Linked DNA regions of Homo sapiens: all the other regions are linked to region 3. The links are contacts of gene promoters, found by promoter capture Hi-C in human tissues and cell types (Jung and others, 2019). All regions are on one chromosome and are shown on one strand. The core of a region is centred on a gene start or on the middle of the fragment in contact, and the rest is flanking DNA. Distances in the headings are between cores, read along the strand shown. Region 1 has its middle 18 kb from the start of ETV4. Region 2 overlaps DHX8 (DEAH-box helicase 8). Region 3 holds the start of CD300LG (CD300 molecule like family member g).

The links. Contacts are between HindIII fragments. The study calls those that stand out against the background at their distance.
Region 1: a fragment that was not itself captured here is called in contact with the fragment with the promoter of CD300LG in region 3 in 1 of the 25 tissues and cell types used here (pancreas).
Region 2: a fragment that was not itself captured here is called in contact with the fragment with the promoter of CD300LG in region 3 in 4 of the 25 tissues and cell types used here (IMR-90 fibroblasts, liver, mesenchymal stem cells and 1 more).

The regions. Positions count from the first base shown.
Region 1 is chr17:43,562,246-43,567,100 of GRCh38, reverse strand. No RefSeq gene overlaps it. Among named protein-coding and RNA genes, the nearest start is that of ETV4, 18 kb to the right of the region's middle. The HindIII fragment of the contact is 6,893 bases long and covers 59-4,855 here.
Region 2 is chr17:43,505,788-43,510,609 of GRCh38, reverse strand. It overlaps DHX8 (DEAH-box helicase 8), which reads right to left. Exons shown (of 23, transcript NM_004941.3): 13 at 3,413-3,607; 14 at 2,922-3,107; 15 at 2,591-2,801; 16 at 2,090-2,271. Among named protein-coding and RNA genes, the nearest start is that of DHX8, 24 kb to the right of the region's middle. The HindIII fragment of the contact is 8,192 bases long and covers 1-4,822 here.
Region 3 is chr17:43,844,558-43,848,775 of GRCh38, reverse strand. It overlaps CD300LG (CD300 molecule like family member g), which reads right to left and starts at 1,600. Exons shown (of 7, transcript NM_145273.4): 1 at 1,517-1,600; 2 at 1-218. The coding sequence starts at 1,559. LOC107984979 (a long non-coding RNA gene) reads right to left here. Exons shown (of 3, transcript XR_001753057.2): 3 at 2,301-2,512. The HindIII fragment of the contact is 22,281 bases long and covers 1-3,919 here.

The DNA of each region.
Region 1 (4,855 bases), core at 2,256-4,755, 280 kb after region 3:
CTCCTGCCTCAGCCTCCCGAGTAGCTGGGATTACAGGCACCCACCATCAAGCTCAGCTAATTTTTGTACTTTTGTAGAGACAGGGTCTCACCATGTAGGCCAGGCTGGTCTTGAACTCCTGACCTCAGGTGATCTGCCTGCCTCAGTCTCCCAAAATGCTGGGATTATAGGCATGAGCCACCGTGCCCCGCCCACTCTCCTGGCTTCTAATAATAATAGCACAGATTAGCTTTGCCTGGATTTGAACTTTATATAAATGTAACTAGAGGTGCACTTGGATGACCCATAATGACATCCACATCAGGAAATTCAGCACACTGCTGCTGCAGGAAACAAGAGCATAGAGGAGCTCTAGTCTCTCTAGAAGCCAGACTTTGTGCTGCAAGATGTGGGCCCTGGAAAAAGGGATGTCATGTACAACTTAGACTCTTTCCTTCTTGAGCATTTGTTCAAAGTGGATTGAGACTCAGGAGATCCAGATGAGAGGCCCAGTTCTGCCGTGAACTCCCTGGTAAACCTGGATAAGTCACTTTGCCCCTCATCTGTACAACAGGGGTGAGAATGATAATAACTGAGGTTTCTTGAGCACTTGCTATGTGCCAAGGACTGCTCCAACTCATTTATCCTCTAGACCAGGGGTCAGCAGTTATGGCCTCCTACCTGTTTGTGTACAGCCTGCAAGTTGAGAATCATTCTTACATTTTTAAAAGGTTTGAAAAAAAAAATCAAAAGAATAATACTTCACAGCTGGGCGTGGTGGCTCAACCTGTAATCCCAGCACTTTAGGAAGCCTAGGTGGGAGAATCCCTTGAGGCTAGGAGTCGAGACCAGCCTGGGCAATGTAGCAAGACCTCTGTCTCAACAAAAAATTAAAAAATTATCCAGGTGTGATGGCATGTGCCTGTAGCCCTAGCTACTTGGGAAGCTGAGGCAGGAGGATCACTTGAGCCCAAGAGTTCCAGCCAGCAGTGAGCATGATGGTGCCACTGTGCTCTAGTCTGGGCAACAGAGTGAGGCCCTGTCTCTCTCTTTTTTTTTTCTTTGAGACGGAGTCTCGCTCTGTCACCCAGGCTGGAGTGCAGTGGTGCGATCTCAGCTCACCGCAACCTCTGCCTCCCGGGTTCAAGCTATTCTCCTCCCTCAGCCTCCCAAGTAACTGACACTATAGGCCTGTGCCACCACACCTGGCTAATTTTTGTATTTTCAGTAGAGATGGATTTTCACCATGTTGGCCAGGCTGGTCTCAAACTCCTTACCTCAAGTGATCTGCCCACCTTGGCCTCCCAAAGTGTTCGGATTACAGACGTGAGCCACCATACCCGGCTGACCCTATTTCTAAAAAAATAAATAAATAAACAAATATTGGGTACTGGGCTTAGTACCTAGGTGATGAAATAATCTGTACAACAAAACCCCGTGACACAAGTTTACCTATATAACAAACCTGCACATGTACCCCTGAACCTAAAAGTTAAAAAAAGGAATAATACTTTGTGACATATGAAAATTACATGAAATTCAAATGTCCGTGTCCATAAATAAAATTTTGTTGGAACACAGTCATGCTCATTCATTTACATCTATGGCTGCTTCCAGAGTAGGTATGACAGAGACCTTATGGCCCTCAAAGGCTAAAATATTTACCACCTGACCTTCTATAGAAAAAGGTGGCTGGGCCGGGCACAGTGGGTCGTGCCTGTAATCCCAGCACTTTAGGAGGCTAAGGCGGGTGGATCACCTGAGGTTAGGAGTTCAAGACCAGCCTGGCCAACATAGTGAAACCCTATCTCCACTAAAAGTACAAAAATTAGCTGGGCGCAGTGGCGGGCACCTGTAATCCCAGCTACTCCGAAGGCTGAGGCAGGAGAATCACTTGAACCCAGGAGGCGGAGGTTGCAGTGAGCCAAGATCGCACCATTGGACTCCAGCCTGGGTGACAGGAGCGAAACTCTGTCTCAAAAAAGAAAAGAGAAGAAAAAGGTGGCTGACCCCTTCTCTAAACTGTGTTCTAACTCCCCTCTCACTCTAGACATTCTTTTTATCATCCCCATGGCCCAGATGCAGAGAGGTTAGATCACCTGCCAGGGAAACCCATCTTGGGGTGGTAGCAGGCGGGCTGGCTCCAGTTCACTCCCTCCAGGAAACACCCTATGTGAGGCTCTCTGAGGTGGTAGACATGGCATTGCTTTGCAAACTGCAGAGAAGTTTACAAATGCTAGATCTGTACCTCCCTTTCCTCCTGGTAGGCATCAGTGACTGAATCTACACTCACTCCCCAGATCAAAATGCCCCAACACCCTACACATACCACACCCAGCCCAAAGACCTCCTGATATGATTAATTAGCACTTTTTCTACAAGCTTCTACTTCGGAAGGAGAGGGTTGAGTCTACCATACTCTCCGTTCATGGCCTGTTGTCATAACTGGTCTGTGTAGTGCCCTGCTCTTGGTTTCATTCATTCATACATTCCCTTTTTTTTTTTTTTTTTTTTTGAGACAGGGTCTTCTCTGTCACCCAGGCTGGAGTGAACTGGTGAGATCAGAGTTCACTGCAGCCTTGACCTCATGGGCTCAAGCAATCCTCTCACCTCAGCCTCCTAACTTGCTGGGACTACAAGGACATGCCACTGTAATTTTTTTCATTTTTTTGTAGAGATGGGGTCTCACTGTGTTGTCCAGGCTGGTCTTGAACTCCTGGGCTCAAGCGATCACCCCACCTCAGCATCCCAAAGTGCTGGGATTATAGGCATGAGCCACTGCACCCAATCTGTTTGCTGAGTTCTTTCAGGATGGGTAGTTATTTCGTAGGCATGGGGTTTATTTACATAAATAGCATTGTGTTATATATTTTGTTTCCTACAATTTTTTTCCTCTACAACATTTGTTTGCTCTTTCCTTTCCTGTTGAGGTATAACATATATACGGTAAAGTGAGTAATGTGCACTGATCTGAAATATGAAACTCGATTTTTAGCCTACATATACATCTGTGTAATCATCACCGAGATCAAAATATAGAACATTTCCAGTACCCCAGCCAAGTTTCCCTTGTGTCCCTTCACAGTCAATAAACTGCCCCCTTCCCTGCCTGAGGTACCCACTCTTCCAGCTCCCATCTCCACCCATTCATTGAATTTTTTCTTGAACTTCCTCTGCATGGAATCGTACCTGTCTTTCATGTCTTGCTTCTTTTGCTCAACTTGTCTGGGAGACTCCCCTATGTCGTTGCGGGTAGAGAGAATTTGTATTTTTTGCTGTTGCGGAGCACTACGTTTTTGAGATCTATCGCGGGGCTCTGTGTACAGGCGTCAGTGCTTCTTGCTGCTACCTGGCGCCCCTTGGTGCTTCCACCCACTTGACCTTTCCACTCTCCCAGTGAGGGACACCCAGGGTGCCTCCTATGAGGCTGCTCTGATCATCCTCATCCACATCTCCTTATGGAGCCGTGTGAACATTTCACTGGATGAATACCTAGGAAAAGAATCTTTTGGGCACAGGGAATTGACTGCCCCAGCAACTGACAAACTGCTGAAATTGACTAGCTCTTTTCCATGTCTACCAAGGCAGGAGCAGGGAGAAGGGAAGAAGAGCTGCTGCTTTGGTGATCCTCCTCTGACCCCACTCTCCCCTCCCCCTTGCCCTCCAGGAAAACCTTTCAGCTCCCCCACCTCTTCTTCTTGCAGGACCCAACTAAGCGCTTTGCTTCCTGAATGTCGCTGCCTCCGCAGCAGCCCGCACCATCCTGCTGCATTATAACAGGACGATAATCAATGAACTGCTAACTCTATTGCAATAAAGGAGCGAGCCCAACCTTATATAATTCTTTTTAATTGTTTTCTCACATTACAAGGTTTTTTTTTTTTTTTGGCTAAACTTATTCCGCCGTAAGTTATGTCGTTTAATTTCTCAAAGTGCTAATAATTTAATTGCTTCCTTCCTGCAGACAAAGTGCCTGAACTGTCCTCCCTCCCCGGCACGGAGATTATAAAACGGAGTTGGCAGGAATACCTAAGAGGAGAGTCTTTTTGGCGGCAGGATTTGATGGGAAGCAGCTTTCTCAGAAGTCAGTGTGTGAGGCTGGGAACCTGGCTTGGGACTTCAAAGGGGCATGGGGCCCAGCCAAGCCTGCCTAACTCGAGAGGGTTTATGATAATCACAGGGGAGGGGAAAGGGAAGAGCTGAGATTAGAGAGGCTGGACGAGGGTGGGGAACACTAAACATGGAGCTTCCCGTCCTGAAAGGCTGTCAGGGAAGCTGGGCTCCATCTGCAGCAGAGGGATTTAGATCAGACTGGTAGGCGGAGTGGGGGCATTCCTGAGAGTCAGGACTTCGAGATGCTGACTGGACCCGGGACAGGGTGGGGAGGTAACATCTGATAACAGGAACTAGCCTTTATTGATCCCTTACTGAAAGCCTGAGCTTCCCTAGAGCATCTCAATTTACCTGCACACCCAGGTCTCTGAGGCAGGTACTACTAGTATTGCCGTTTTACAGATGAGGAAACTGAGGCATAGAAAGGTTCCAGGCCCCATAGCTTGTTGGTGAATGATGAGTTGAGTGATGGCATCACATCTTATGTGGCAAAAGGGGGACAGGATCAGGGATGAGCGACTCTTGAAGATTCCAAGGCAGTGACCTCCTTCCTCTTGCCTAGGGTCTGATTCAGTCAGAATTGCTTTAACCTACCCATGCTCCGCCACCCTGCCCCCGACCCCAGTGACTCCCATGATCTATAGGATATAATACAAGCTCCTAAACAAGGTCTTCAAAATGCTCACACTCCCTAGCCTGAGGGTAGGAATTTTGAGGACTACCCCCAAATTTGTCTCTCCCCTAGGATTTCCTTTCTGGCTCC
Region 2 (4,822 bases), core at 43-2,542, 340 kb after region 3:
AATTCAACAATAAAAAAATACAAATAAAAAATACAGTAAAACAACTGCTTATATAGCATTTACACTGTATGAGGTATTATAGGTAATCTAGAGATAAAGTATCACACAGGAAGATGTGCATAGTTTACATGCAAATACTATGGCATTTTACATAAGAGACTTGAGCATACTTGGATTTTGGTATCCTCGGGGGTCCTGGAACCAATCCCCACATACCATGGGTAAAAGCCTTTGAACTGTACACTTTAAAAGGGTAAATTCTGGCTGGGCACGGTGGCTCACACCTGGAATCCCGGCGCTTTGGGAGGCCGAGGGGGGCAGATCATCTGAGGTCAGGAGTTCGAGACCAGCCTGACCAGAATGGAGAAACCCTGTCTCTACTAAAAATACAAAATTAGCCGGGTGTGGTGGCACATGCCTGTAATCACAGCTACTCGGGAGGCTGAGGCAGGAGAATCACTTGAATCTGGGAGGCGGAGGTTGCGGTGAGCCAAGATCGCACCATTGCACTCCAGCCTCGGCAACAAGAGCGAAACTCCATCTCAAAACAAACAAACAAACAAACAAACAAACAAAAAACAGTAAATTCCAATCTGGGCAACATGGCGAAACTGTGTTTCTACAAAAAAAATACAAAAATTGGCTGGGCGCAGTGGCTCACGCCGGTAATCCCAGCACTTTGGGAGGCCGAGACCGGCAGATCACATGAGGTCAGGAGTTCGAGACCAGCCCGGCCAACGTGGGGAAACCCCATCTCTACTAAAAATACAAAAATAAGCCAGGCGTGGTAGTGGGTGCTTATAGTCCCAGCTACTCGGGAGGCTGAGGCGGGGGAATCGCTTGAACCTGGGAGGTGAAGGTTGCAGTGAGCCGAGATTGTGCCGTTGCACTCCAGCCTGGGCAACAAGAGTGAAACTCTGTCTCAAAAAAAAACACAAAAACAAAAACAAAAACCAAAATTAGCCAAGAATGGTGGCATGCACCTGTAGTCCCAGCTGCTTAGGCGGCTGAGGCAGGAGGATCACTTGAGCCTGAAAGGCAGAGGTTGCAGTGAGCTGAGATCACATCACTGCACTCCACCTTGGGTGACAGACTGAGACCCCATCTCAAAAAAAAAAAAAAAAATAAGTGGGAGGTGGAGGGAGTTAATTGAAAGGTATGTAAATTATATCTCAATAAAACTGTTACTAAAAAAATACCTACATCCATCTGTCTCCTTTCCTGTTGTCTCATACACACAGTCATATACTTGGTTCCAGCCACTGGAACTATGCCATTCCCTGAACTGGCCCTACTTGCTCGTCTCCAGGCCATCACAGATAGTTCTGTGTCCTTAGAATGCTTGTCCCCTTGCCTTTCAAGAGTTCTCCAGGACTACCTTAGATCCTTATTTCCTCTAGGAAGACAGGGTTGGGTGCTCCCGCCTGGGTATCCAAGCATGAGTGGCATTTTCACACTAAATGCTGAAAGTCTGTTGACTGGGGGATGCCCCACAGCAGATAGAGGCTTGTTCTCACAATGCAGCTCCCATGTGTAGCCCAAAGCCTGGTAGATGCTCAAAAAATATTTGTCAAATGAAGAAGAGGAAGAAGAGGAGAGGTCACATACTAAACAAATTGGTTGGACCTCATTCCTAAACAAATTGGTTGGACCAGTCTCTGAAACCTAACAAACAAGACTTGCATACACCTGGCCGGGCGCGGTGGCTCACACCTATAATCCCAGCACTTTGGGAGGCTGAGGCGGGCGGATCACGAGGTCAGGAGATCGAGACCATACTGGCTAACACGGTGAAACCCCGTCTCTACTAAAAATACAAAAAATTAGCCAGGCGTGGTGGCAGGTGCCTGTAGTCCCAGCTACTCAGGAGGCTGAGGCAGGAGAATGGCGTGAACCCGGGAGGCGGAGCTTGCAGTGAGCTGAGATGGTGCCATTGCACTCCTGCCTGGGTGAGAGCGAGACTCTGCCTCGAGGAAAAAAAAAAAAAAAAAGACTTGCATACACCCTAAGCAATCCCTACTATGGCTGACAGGCTGCACACAACACATGGTTTCAGGGCACATGGAAGCTTCATTTTTGCCCATGTTACCTTTCTGCTGCCTGGTGGAGCTGGGTCAAAGATTCGGGTCTGCATCTCACTGGGAAGAGCAGAGTACACTGGGAGGATAATTAACTCTGGAACATCAGGTCCCAGGGATTTCATTCTTTCATACAGGATCTCACAAGCAGTATCAATTTCTTCCTGACCAGTCAGGAAGACCAGGATATCACCTACGAGCAGAATAGAACATTCATCTACTTTCTGTGTGTGTATGTGTGTCCTATACAAGGGCTATGGTGATATTAATAAAACTTCAAATAACAGAACATATGCATTCATATTCTGACCAGTAAGTAAACAATACAAGTTTGTTTATATATGACATTATAACCACCATCATTTCAAACATACAAGCCTGAGGCTTGCAGAGAGATGAATATTTAGAAGTTGTTTTTAAAAAGATTAGCAAAAAAGATACCCATATGAGGACTTTTGGCCTAAGAGGGAAAATTAGGCCTCCCAAAAAGGAAAATTGCTTTTTCCCCTTACCTGGTGGTTCTGTTAAATGAATCTGCATAACAGTAATCAGGCTGGCATCCAGATAATCTGTCTCAGGTTCCTTTGTGTACAGTATTTCCACTGGATATGTTCGACCTGGGATGGTGAAAATGGGAGCTTCATAGAAGTATTGAGAAAACTTCACTGCATCCAAGGTGGCTGAGGTGACAATCAGCTTCATGTCCTGCCGTTTCTGAACTGTCTGAAGAGAAATATTATGTGGCTTACTGAAAAGGACTACCCAAAGACACAGGTACTCAAATCCAACTGCCAGAATTCAGCTTCCAACAGGTAGAGGGGTCATTAAAGAGCATCTAGTTACCTTTTTCAACAATCCAAAGAGCACATCAGTGTGAATTGTCCTCTCATGTGCCTCGTCCAACATGATGATCGCGTACTGAGTGAGGTCAGGGTCAATCAAGCACTCTCTAAGCAACATCCCATCTGTCATGTACTTGATGACTGTTTCAGGGCTAGTGCAGTCCTCAAATCGAATGGTGTAGCCCACCTAAAGCAGAAGAGAAGGGGAAAACCTAGGATACAAATGTCTCCTTTTCCCAATCACCAGGCAAGATTTCAGCCCAGTCACTCTCACTCATAATCTTAAGAATCTGATCAAGATGTACAGTAATTTCCTCATAGTAAGGTATGTCTTAGACTATACTCTGAACAGACTGATTATGACAATGGGAACCCTCTCTCCCTCAGGAGAAACCTGAAAAAAGGCAGTATTATTAATATTTCCATTTGATAGATTAAGAGACCTGGGCCTTTGCTTCTGGTATTTTTCGAGCGACTCCACTATCTACTTACCTCTTGGCCTAAGCAACAACCAAACTCCTCTGACACTCTTTTGGCCACCGACATAGCTGCCACTCTTCTGGGCTGGGTACACCCAATCTTGCCCCTGGAAGTGTAGCCTGCCTCCGCCAGGTACTGGGTGATCTGTGTTGTCTTTCCAGATCCTGTCTCACCAATGACAATCAGGATCTGATTGTCATGGACGGCCTGAAAGCAACAGAATATAAATATGGTCATTAAAATCTGCCAGAATATAAATATGGTCATTAAACAGAATATAAATATGGTCATTAAAATCTACATTACTCTGGAATAAAATAATTACTATATTCTAACACCAAAGAAAAGAGGAATATACACATATAGTTAAAGAAGTCAACAATGAATTTAAAAGATACATAAAAAATGTTCCTTCCCACTGTAACTCCCAAATTTCTATATCTTTCCCCAAAAGTTATTTCTTATTTCTACGTTGTTTGTAACAGCCAAGGATTACAATCAACGATGTTTCTATGGATATAGGACTAGTTAAATAAACCAGAGCCTATCCAAATAATACAGCCCATAAAAAAAGGCTTTTTTTTTTTTTTTGAGATGAAGTCTCACTCTGTCGCCCATGCTGGAGTGCAGTGGCATGATCTCAGCTCATTGCAACCTCCACCTTCCGGATTCAAGTGATTCTCCTGCCTCAGCCTCCCAAGTAGCTGGGACTGCAAGTGCCCGCCAGCACGCCCGGCTAATTTTTGTACTTTTAGTAGAGACAGGGTTTCACCATGTTGGCCAGGCTGGTCTCGAACTCCTGACCTCAGGTGATCCGCCCGCCTTGGCCTCCCAAAGTATTGGGATTACAGGTGTGAGCCACTGTGCCTGGCCTGGCAATTTTTTTTGTTTGTTTGTTTAAGAAGGCCAGGCACAGTGGCTCATGCCTGTAATCCTAGCACTTTGGGAGGCCAAGGAGGGAGGATTGCTTGAGTCCAGGAGTTCAAGACCAGCCTGGACAATATAGTGAGACCGCATCTCTACAAAAAATACAAAAAACTAGCTGAGCATGATGGTGTATGCCTTGTAGTCCCATCTACTTGGGAGTCTGAGGTGGGAAGATCACTTGAGCCCAGGAGGTAGAGGTTGCAGTGAGCTGAGATCAAGCCACTGTACTCCAGCCTGCACAAAGCGAGACTCTGTCACACACACATACACACACACACACACAAATCTCTGAGATATATCATTAAGTGGAAAAAGATGTAGAACAGTGTATATAATATCACTGCCACCTGTAAACACACACAGTACTCATATAAAATGTGTGTGCGTGTGTGTGCATATATTTGTACTTGCTTGTATACATATAAGATATTGTTGAAAGGATTCACTAGAAACTAGTAAACCTGATTACCTCAAGGAAGACTCGGTGGTCTTAAA
Region 3 (4,218 bases), core at 351-2,850:
CTCCTGGCGGCTGTCACGGATGGACACCCTGCCCTTCATTGTCTCCTGGCCTTCTTCTTCTGCATAGATGGTGCCAGAGCAGCGAGAGAAGAGGATCCCACCCTTCCTGCACCAGTACTTCCGGTGGTCCCTCAGCTCTTCCCTGTAGGTGCACTGCAGGGACACAGTGTCCCCTTCGAACCCGCTGATTTCCTCTGGGCCCTCCAGGGCTTCATAACCTAAAATCAGAGCAGGAGTGGAGGTTGGAAAAACCAGGCTCCATGTACCAAGGTCAAGGCCAGAGCTTCCATTTTAGGAGGAAGAAGGAAGGCTTTTCTCAGTCATCCCTTCTGGGGACAGCCTTGGAAGAGCCATTACTAACCTCCCACGCTGGGGGAACTTGGGGCAGGGCTGTTGCTGTTTCCCTAACCCTGGCCCATTGAGGAATTGGGGTGCAGGGGTGGCGTTCTAGATTCAGATAGAATCTGACAGCCAGATAGCCAGCAGGGTTTCTGAGTGTTTTGTTTTGTTTTGTTTGTTTGTTTGTTTGTTTTTGAGATGGAGTCTCACTTTGCCGCCCAGGCTGGAGTGCAGTGGCCCGATGTCTGCTCACTGAAACTTCTGCCTCCCGGGTTCAGGTGATTCTCCTGCCTCAGCCTCCTGAGTACCTGGGACTACAGCCACGTGCTGCCATGCCCGGCTAATTTTTTGTATTTTTAGTAGAGACGGGGTTTCACCGTGTTAGCCAGGATGGTCTTGATCTCCTGACCTTGTGATCCGTCCGCCTCAGCCTCCCAAAGAGCTTGGATTACAGGCGTGAGCCACCGTGCCTGGTTTTGTTTTGTTTTTAGACAGGATCTCACTCTGTTGCCCAGGCTGGAGGGCAATGGTGCTCATGGCTCACTGTAGCCTTGACCTCTGGGGCTCAAGCGATCCTCCCACCTTAGCCTCCCACTAGCTAGGACTACAAGTGTGCACCACCATGCCTGGCTAATTTTGTTTGTTTGTTTGTTTGTTTGTTTGTAGAGATGGGGTCTCACTATTGCCAACTGAACAACTGACATCAGTTGTAGGATTTATCCTGATTTTAAGTGTTAGAAGGTAAAGAAAAAGAAAGCAAAAGAATTGATGAAACGTGATAATTCTTCATCTTTCAGGGTTGTGGGGAGAGGCATAGCCGAAATTCAACAAATATTTGCTGAGTTTAACAGGGCAACCAGATGGGGTGTCTTGTCCGCCTCCAGGCTTGGCACAGGGTAGAAAAATTAAGATTAGAGAGGCAAAGCAACTCTCACAGCCACATTGCCATGAGGGGAAACCCACAGGTCTGGAGAAAACCTGGCTCTAGGTTCCAGAAACAGCAAGTGCGGCCCCGGCGCCACCCCCACCTCCCCCCACCCCCAGCCCGCCCCGCTCCCCTAGGGCTGAGGAGGCTGAGGATAGGTGGGGTGGGGCTATCAGTCAGTCAAGAGGTCCTTTCCCTGCAGACCACAAGGGTGAGCCCCACATCCCTCCCGAGACCCTCTCCCCATCTCACCTGGGAGCAGCAGGCAACCCCATAGCAGGACCAGAAGCCGCATTCTGGGCGCTGGACACCGTGGGAGCAGACGCTGGGAACTGTGAGCTCCTCTTCAGTCACACGGGTCTTTAACTTTCTCTAGTCGCGTGAAACCAGGCCAAGGAAGCGAGGGGAGGGGCGTGTGGGTCATCCCTCCGCAGGCCCAGCCGGGGAGGCGCCTCTGCCTTCCCTTTTCTGAGCGCCCACGCGTGCCTACCCCAGGGCTCACCTTCCAGGACTGAAAACCCACACCAGAGTTTCTCCTAAACTCGTGCCCCTTCAAGGGGGCCTTAACCTGTGGTCCGTGCGCCCTAAGGGGTCTGTAAGTCGAATTCGCATGGGAAAAAGTTACATATTGACTTTCATCAACTTCTAATATTTAGCTTTTCCTCTTATTCAGAGTGTACTGTTAGCAGTACCTGCAACTTTGTTACCAATTACAATCACAGACACTGGCACATCAAGTTGTGGATATCTCGAAACGTCGTGTATACCCCTCACTGCTTGGAAAACAATGAGTTCCTAGACCTGCCCCTAGAGCTGGTTATTTACAATAATGAAACGGCTATTATTATATTACACATTTATAAAGAGTTTTAAGAATCATCTCACCAGTATTAGTTTTCTTTCCAGCATATATATTTTATTTATATATTTACCCGCCATTATACTGAGAGAGGGGTCCATAAACTTCACCAGACTGCCATGTGGTCAGTGGGACAGAAAGAAGCTTGCCCCTGGGGCAAGGCCCCTGGCCCCTCCTCCGCCCTTGCCTTTTGGAGGACGCAGTACTGCCCTTGGCCACGGGGCGGCGGTGCAGACGGGGCTGAGCAAAGCTGTAGGGCTGAGCTGGACCGGATTCCCTGGTGCCTTGGGCCTACAGCGCTGCAAGATAGGTCTCCTCCACGCCTGCGGAGTTGTTTTGGCATTTGAAAAAGTGAATTGGTGGTTTCTCCATCGCAGACTTGAATCCTCCTTGAAAGGACCAAAACAAACATGTACACTACTGGGAGCTCTGACACACTGGCTTCAAAAATGACTTTTTTTTTGGTTTGGTTGCAAAGTTCATACAGGTTGTAAGCAAAATTTTACACAATACAGAACGTAAAAAGGAAAGAAAGAAAAAAGGGAGTGCTTCTTGTAATTCCCCTTCTGCTTTAGAAAAGCACCATTAATATTTTGGCATATATCCTTCCAAATGTTCAGTTGGAATTTTACTGACTTGTCAGGTTAATATCTGAAGCATTAACTCAGTGGTTCTGGGAGGGAAGATTGTGTGTGTGTGAGTCTAGTAACGTGGGGAGAAGTGTTTTAATTTCACAATGACTGCGAAGCACTGCTGCCATTTAGTGGGCAGGGCCAGCTGTTCACGGTGGGGAAAACTGTTACCATGATCTCAGCCCCTGACTCTCTTTTACATGTACAGACTACAAAAGGTGATCTGTTTTTGCAGTTTTAAAAAAACACAGATTAAAAAATATTTATGGCCCAGCATGGTGGCTCACGCCTGTCATCCCAGCACTTTGGGAGGCTGAGGCGGGTGGATCACCTGAAGTCGGGAGTTTGAGACCAGCCTGACCAACATGGAGAAACCCAGTCTCTACTAAAAATATAAAATTAGCCAGGCATGGTGGTGTATGCCTGTAATCCCAGCTACTCAGGGAGGCTGAGGCAGGAGAATCGCTTGAACCCAGAAGGTGGAGGTTGTGGTGAGCTGAGATCACACCATTGCACTCCAGCCTAGGCAACAAGAGTGAAATTCTATCTAAAAAAAGAAAAAAAAGTATTTGTTTATTTACTTATTTTTGAGACAGGTCTCACTCTTGTTGCCCAAACTGGAGTGCAGTGGCGCCATCACAGCTCACTGCAGCCTCAAACTCCCAGGCTGAAGTGATCCTCCCACCTCAGCCTCCCAAGTAGCTGGCACTACAGGCGTGCACCACTGTTGCCTGGCTAATTTTTTATTTTTAGTAGAGACAGGGTCTTGTTATGTTGTCAGGCTTTTCTCAAACTCCTGGCTTCATGCGATCCTCCCACGTCGGCCTCCCAAAGTGCTGGGATTACAGGCACGAGCCACCATGCCCGGCCTTAAAGTAATACTTATTCTAGCATTTGATAGCATATCTTTGCTCTTCTATTTATTTATTTTTGTCCTTACACAGAATAATTTCTGATCCTCTACATTTCTTAAATTCAGACTTATTTATTATATGCAAGGACGAGCATCTGACACTTCATTATGCTTTCTAGTGTCATGGGACCTGAGCACTGACAGATTGAAATATGTGTTATTTGGTTATAAATTGCTTTCCTTTTATTTTTTCTCCCTAGTATAGCTCAGGCACTATAGTGTGATTTTAAAGAAGTAAGTGCTTGTGAAGGCATATTATTTATGATTGTCATTTTAGGAGAGTAAGCGAGGTGTTATTAAATGTTTATTTATATAAAGAGCATGTTGAGTGGATCCCTACCCTCTTCCTGCATATTTGAAGGTCCTTCCCCTCCATTTCCCAGCCCCACACCTAGCCCAGGAGGCTGGCTCAAGAACTCCATTAGAAACAGATTCACCAGACTGGGAAGTGGAGCAAGGGCTGGGGAGAAGGGTGAAAGTGAGGTGCTGGCATGAGCCTCGCACCTAGTTCCACCTTAGGCCACACTCTGGGGTAGATGGGGCCAACAGA